2 separate regions of the Homo sapiens genome follow, and region 1 is linked to region 2. The links are contacts of gene promoters, found by promoter capture Hi-C in human tissues and cell types (Jung and others, 2019). All regions are on one chromosome and are shown on one strand. Each heading gives the region's core, a stretch centred on a gene start or on the middle of the fragment in contact. The rest is flanking DNA. Distances are from core to core; before and after follow the strand shown. Region 1 holds the start of LOC112268418 (a long non-coding RNA gene). Region 2 holds the start of SLC4A5 (solute carrier family 4 member 5).

Region 1 (2,897 bases), core at 154-2,653, 650 kb after region 2:
AGTCTCTACTAAAAATTCAAAAATCAGCTGGATGCGGTGGTGCATGCCTAGAGTCCCAGCTACTTGGGTGGCTGAGGCAGGAGAATTGCTTGAACCTTGGAGGTGGAGGCTGTAGTGAGCCAAGATAAGGCCACTGCACTCCAACCTAGGCAACAGAGTGAGACTGCCTCAGAAAAAAAAAAAAAAAGGAAAAGTTAAAGTGTTGCTTTTAGTGAGTGCAGGAAAACAAGTAGCAATGGTGTTCAGAATATCAAGGATAGCTTTCTATCCTTCCCTTGGAATTTTGGGGTGACTCTCATTGGCAACATGGAGAGGCATTGGCATTAGCGGAATTGTTTCCTTATTTTTTTGGCAATAAAAACAAACCCAATAAGCCACAAACTCTGGTTCTGTGCTAGAGCATATGCTCAAGCTAAAGCCATCCACTGATTATCGTCCCATGGATTTTTCTGTAGGGAAAAAGAAAGAATTAGGGCAACAGGAAATGCGGAGAAAAGAAAAAATGTAAGGCTTTCATGATGATACAGAAGTCTTGATCTGTGATCTTGGGAAAGCTGTCCACAGCTAGAATGCCCGCTGCTCTGGAGAGATATTTCCTTAGACAGCTTTACCTTAAAGTCTCCAGCAGGTGTACAGTTCCAGGAGTCTGAAGAGGCCCTTCTGAGTTGTGAGGTGTGGACCCAAGTTTCAAGGCCCTGAAGCTTCACTGCAGTGTAGGTGTTGAGAAGATCTCAGCACGGTCCCTTCCAAAGAGTTGTCAAGAGCAGCCTTTCTCTGATGTCATTTCCAGAAGACACAATCTCCAGGTTCTAGACTGTGGAAGGTTTGATTATCCTCAGTTGGTGGATCTTGAAAAGCTTCCTTTATCTGGTGAAAGTACACTTTGGTATAATGGCCTTGCAGTACTTACTCATATCAGAATTTAGGAGACAGAAAGATGCATGAGGTTTCACTATTGGGGCATAGGCCTTCTAGTGACTATTTCATAAGGGATCCACTTCTGTTTTTTAGTGAGAGTGGATCTGATTGTCATTAAGTCCAATGATAGTACCTTTGGCCAAGGCAACCCAACTGATTCAGTTAACTTTGCCAATTTCAGTTTTAATATGCCATTTGTTCTTTCAACCTTTTCAGAAGACTGAGGGCGATAGGGACAATGGTAGTGCCATTGTGTCCATAACACCTTGTTTAACTGCTTTATAACCTGCCTAATAAAATGAATTCCCCTATTGCTGGGGATTTTTCCAGGGATGCTCCATAAAGAAAACACATTTTCTAATAATTTCTTAGCTACTGTCACAGCATCAGCTTTCCTACACAGGAAGGCCTCTACCCAACCAGAAAACATGGAAACTATTACAAGAACATACTGAGACCCCCATTGAAGGTGGCAACTGAATGAAGTCTATCTATAATTGTTCAAATGATCCATTAGGTGGTGAAAATACAATACACCACCTGAATCTTTTGTTTTTCCAGGACTATGGGTTTGACAAGCCAACATTGGTTATAAAATATTCTAGCAGGCTGGGTGCAGTGGATAATGCCTGTAAGCCTAGCATATTGGGAGGCCGAGGCAGGTGGATCACAAGGTCAGGATATCCAGACTATCCTAGCTAACATGGTGAAACCCCATCTCTACTAAAAATAAAAAAAAATTAGTCGGGCATGGTGGCACACACCTGTAGTCCCAGCTACTCGGGAGGCTGATGCAGGAGAATCACTTGAACCAGGGAGGTGGAGTGTGCAGTGAGTTGAGATCGCGCCCTTGCACTCCAGCCTGGGTGACAGAGTGAGACTCCGTCTCAAAATATATATACATATATATATATATATATATTCTAGCAATTTTGGAACAATCATCCCACAAGTATTTTTTCACAATTTGGACGTATTTTTCTGTTCCATGATGAGTTGTGGAGTACAGAGCTTTTGAAAATAGAAGCTTCAAAGACTCAGGAAAGACCAGACAGCCATCTAGGCCCTCTGTGAGTCTGCACTTAACATTGAATTTATATCCTTTTAGATACCAGTTTTGTTTTTCCAAATGAGGTGCATTGCACTGTTTATTAAATAGGTCATTGTAAGGTAGTTGGATTGGATTAATCTTATGAAGTTCATTCAGGTTGCATATCTGAACAGTTTCAGTACTAGCTGATTTAGCATAAATATCTGCTAAGCATTCCCTTGATATTCAGGTTCAGTTCTGCAGGTATGAGCTTCGATCACTAACAGCAAACTAGGAGTTTATCTAACTGGAGTCCATTTTTGATGGTGATCCCACTAGAAGTGAGAAACCCTTAGAGTTTCCCTATCATGCCAAAATCATGTACTACTCCTAAAGCGTATCTACTATCTGTCTAAATACTTACTGATTTGTCTTTAGCTATACGACAAGCTTGGGTGAGGGCAAAAATCTTCAAGAGTTAAGCTGACTTATAGAGCTTAGACTAATAGAGCTGACTAATAGAGGAAGGGGTCCCTTCTCTATTAACTCATTTTGGTAACAGCATATCCTAGCTGATATTTTCCTTCTGAGCTTTTGGCATAGGACCCATCAACAAAAGTATTAACTCAGGATTGTCCAAAGGACTAACTTGTAAATTAACATGAGGGGCCACTATTTCTGATGCTACACTTATGCAATTGTGGTCTTCACCATCATCAGGCAGCAGTAATACAGTGGCATGGTTAAGTAAATTGCAGTGTTTTAGAGAGAGATTAGAAGGAGACAGAGTATTTCATGTTAGTCTACTTACTAAAAAATGCTGGGTTTGGGTGGAATTTAGCATGTGGGACTTCCAAATTAAATTCATTTCCTAAAACCAGATCAGCTGAAGCTTCTTTCATCCTGGTTGCTGCTGCTACTGCTTTTAAATAGTTAGGATATACCTTAG
Region 2 (3,105 bases), core at 453-2,952:
CAGCCTATCGTCGCATGCCCAAAGCTTTATTTCCCCAAACCTGCCCTGTGCCAGGGAAACTGCTCTCCAGTTCTCAGGATATTTATGCTATGTTCTCCCACCTCTTATGTCTATATTTTTTGTGGCTTCTTCCCTCTGCCTCAGATACCCCTTGGTAGTTCTACTGTTCTAAATCCTACCCCTATCCTATCCCTTCACTGCATCTCCAAGGCCATTTTCTCCACAAAGCTTTTCTTTAACACATGGGGCTGGTAGGTAAGCCATGAACATTTGTGGAACAAGGTAATCCTCCAAACAAGGGTGATTTTTCTTTCACTGAACCCTTCCCTCCCTTTGTGCTTCTTTTTGGAGCCTCACACTCTTCTGAATTTGTTGAATCCCCAACCAGCTGGAAATTCCCTAAGGCCCGAAACTGTTTCTGGCCTAGGCTGTGCTGATCTTCCTGGGACTAAGGGGTTTCCTGGGTCACAGATCTTCTGTGCTAAAACCAGGAAAGCCTCTGGTGACCCAGCATGTGTTGATCTCCCTAGTCTTGCCTGTCTTTGATTCCATGGATTATTAACAGAAACTATAATGTTGGGTTAATGTGTTGGCTTGGGCATGGCCTCCGAAACATGTTTTTTACATGTCTGCCACCAGCAGGCTCTAGATCCAGGAATGAGGCTTTTCCACTAAGGGAAAACTCCACGTGATCTAGGAAGAAAGTGAGGATATCCAACCAGATGATAAATTTCCTATCTGAAAGAGAAGGTCAACCCTGAAATAAGGAGGCTGAAGACCCTTAGAGAAGCCACAGAAGAGACTGGAAGAAGAGGGGTAGAGTTGCTTTTTTAATGGGGCTTCCAGCTCCTACTTTTCTTCCTGTCTGTAAGTCTCTGAGCTTCTGTTCCAGCTCTGTAAGGTTGGGGACGAGAATGCTCTCCCCACTGGACTGTTGAGAGTTCAATGAGGGGAAATGTGTGCATATACCAGGCCCCATGCTGGGTGCCCAGAGACGCTGCGCCTTCCTGGCATGCTTCTCTTCCCCATCGCTCAGCACCGCGTCCCTCACTCCCTCCACTCCCGATTCTCACTTCCTACTCACTGGCTTCTTCCTTCCCATCTTCCTCCAAACTTCCCATTTTCCACTATGTCTCTCTCACCGTATCTTTTTCACTTAAACAAAAATGGAATTCATAAAAACAGAGGCCAAAAGTCAGGATAAACCTGGAAAAATCACCAAGTACGCAAAGTTTTTCTTGCAAGGTTTGGTTTTTTCAAATGCCTTCTTTGTTTTCCTTGCCCATATCCTTCTTCGGAGAGTCAGGATTTGGGGTTTGCAGAGCTGTGTGGCAGTGGAATGTGGAATGTTCTCCTGAATCTCAGTCCCATGAAGAAAAGAGGCAAAAGTCCTGACATCTTTCCTGAGGATTGTCTGATTTAAAAGAGCTGATTCTCCCCAGGCAAATGACTTACCTTTGTTGTGCTGGGACAAGCTGAACAGGCAAGGAATAAACCTCCCTAGAACACACTGATTAGATTAGCCAGTGAGAACCACTGAAGACGCAGACATTAGATTAAAAAACAGAAAAATGAATGTTACTTTTACAGTGGCTATGAATAGACAAAGACTTTTTGGTTTGAAAATAGTTGGTGAGGCAATAGAGGAGGGGCTATGTTAATAGCAGAGATAGAAAAAACGAGAGGTGGATGGTTCCAACTGCAAGGTCCACCCTAAAGGAATTGGAGTCAGGGCCCAGGAGCCACAGGCCACTGCACTGGGGTAAGTAGAGTGGATTTTACATAAATAAAGTTACAGAGTGGTTGTAGGTTCTGGTTTGGAGATGTGAGTGAACCAACTGAATAGAATAGGCAGATTCCCCAGCCCACCAAGAGTCAGATGAGAATTTTATTGCTTTTTGCTAAAGGCCTGTACAAGACTTAGAGCAAAGATAAGGAGTAACCTGATTGTTGAAACTAATCTATAAGTATTCCAACATAGCAAAGGACAAGTAACGGAATGACGAGGTTTTCCTGTAGTAGTGTTGCGATTTTGTTCTGCTGTGTCCCCCTACTCCAGTTTCCTCTGTGAGGGGAGCGTGTAGTGTGTGCATATCTGTGGAATGTCAGACTTCTAAAGTCAGGGGCTGAGACCTATATCTAGTTAGACCTCTGTGCATATTCTTGAGCCATGGGAGTCTCAGTGGTTGATAGTACTTCACACTTCTTCCAGTTCAATAAGGGTTACCTATGGTGTCTCCTCTGAGTCTCCTAGGAGTCCAGAAAACATGAGACTTGTATAAGAATCCACACTTCAACTAAGCTTTCTGGCCCAAAGAAGGCATTGTTACCAAGGATCTGTTTCTTGAGGTCTTTAGGGAGTGAGAGGGAAGGAACGCATGAGGAACCAGAGCTAGTCCCCATCTCTCTCCCTAGAAGTGACAGACTGCATAGCTCTTATGTATCAGGAGTCCTGGAGATCAGCTGGCTTTCCTTAAAAAAGGGTCATCCAGCCGTGATGAAATCCTGACTTAGAAACCCAGTGCCCTTAGCTTTGTGGGCTTCTGTCCCTGAGAAATGGTGTTTTACCCTCCCTCCAAGCAGGCATCCCAGGATTTGGAATTCAGCTGTGAGCTCATGAGCTGATGGATGTTTCCAGGAGTACCCTGAAGACCACCCAGGTATGCTCTCCCCACCTCCTTTATTTTGGATGGACCAGTCTAAGGAGAGTCATCTTTTCCCACACCATTGGTGGCACTCAGTGAGTGGCTTGTTGCTTGACTGAATGCCTGCCCACACCCTCTCCAGTCAAGTTTATCTTGAGTAACTAAACACTTAGCAATGGAGACACTCATACATCTCCACTGCACTAGAAGTAGGGATGGTGGCCATGCCAACAAAGGAGATAACTTTAGCACAAAGGATGTCACAAGAAACAGATAGTAGAGTGTGTTCTCCAGTGTTATCATTTCCCAAACCAGAATCAACTGGTCTTGGGTTTCCTTCCCTCATCCTTCATCTGTAGAAAACTTTGTTTCTTGAGCTACTTCAGATCTACTTCCCTATCTTAAGAGGTGGGCTATGTGCTTCTTCTGCTAATTTATTATCTCAGAAGTACATAATTTG

The links. Contacts are between HindIII fragments. The study calls those that stand out against the background at their distance.
Region 1: a contact is called between a fragment that was not itself captured here and the fragment with the promoter of SLC4A5 in region 2, in 1 of the 25 tissues and cell types used here (spleen).

Annotation. Positions count from the first base shown.
Region 1 is chr2:73,692,687-73,695,583 of GRCh38, reverse strand. It overlaps LOC112268418 (a long non-coding RNA gene), which reads right to left and starts at 1,719. Exons shown (of 2, transcript XR_007087079.1): 1 at 1,683-1,719; 2 at 1-867. The HindIII fragment of the contact is 3,400 bases long and covers 1-2,897 here.
Region 2 is chr2:74,342,013-74,345,117 of GRCh38, reverse strand. SLC4A5 (solute carrier family 4 member 5) reads left to right here and starts at 1,702. Exons shown (of 31, transcript NM_133478.3): 1 at 1,702-1,762; 2 at 2,584-2,660. The HindIII fragment of the contact is 6,725 bases long and covers 1-2,970 here.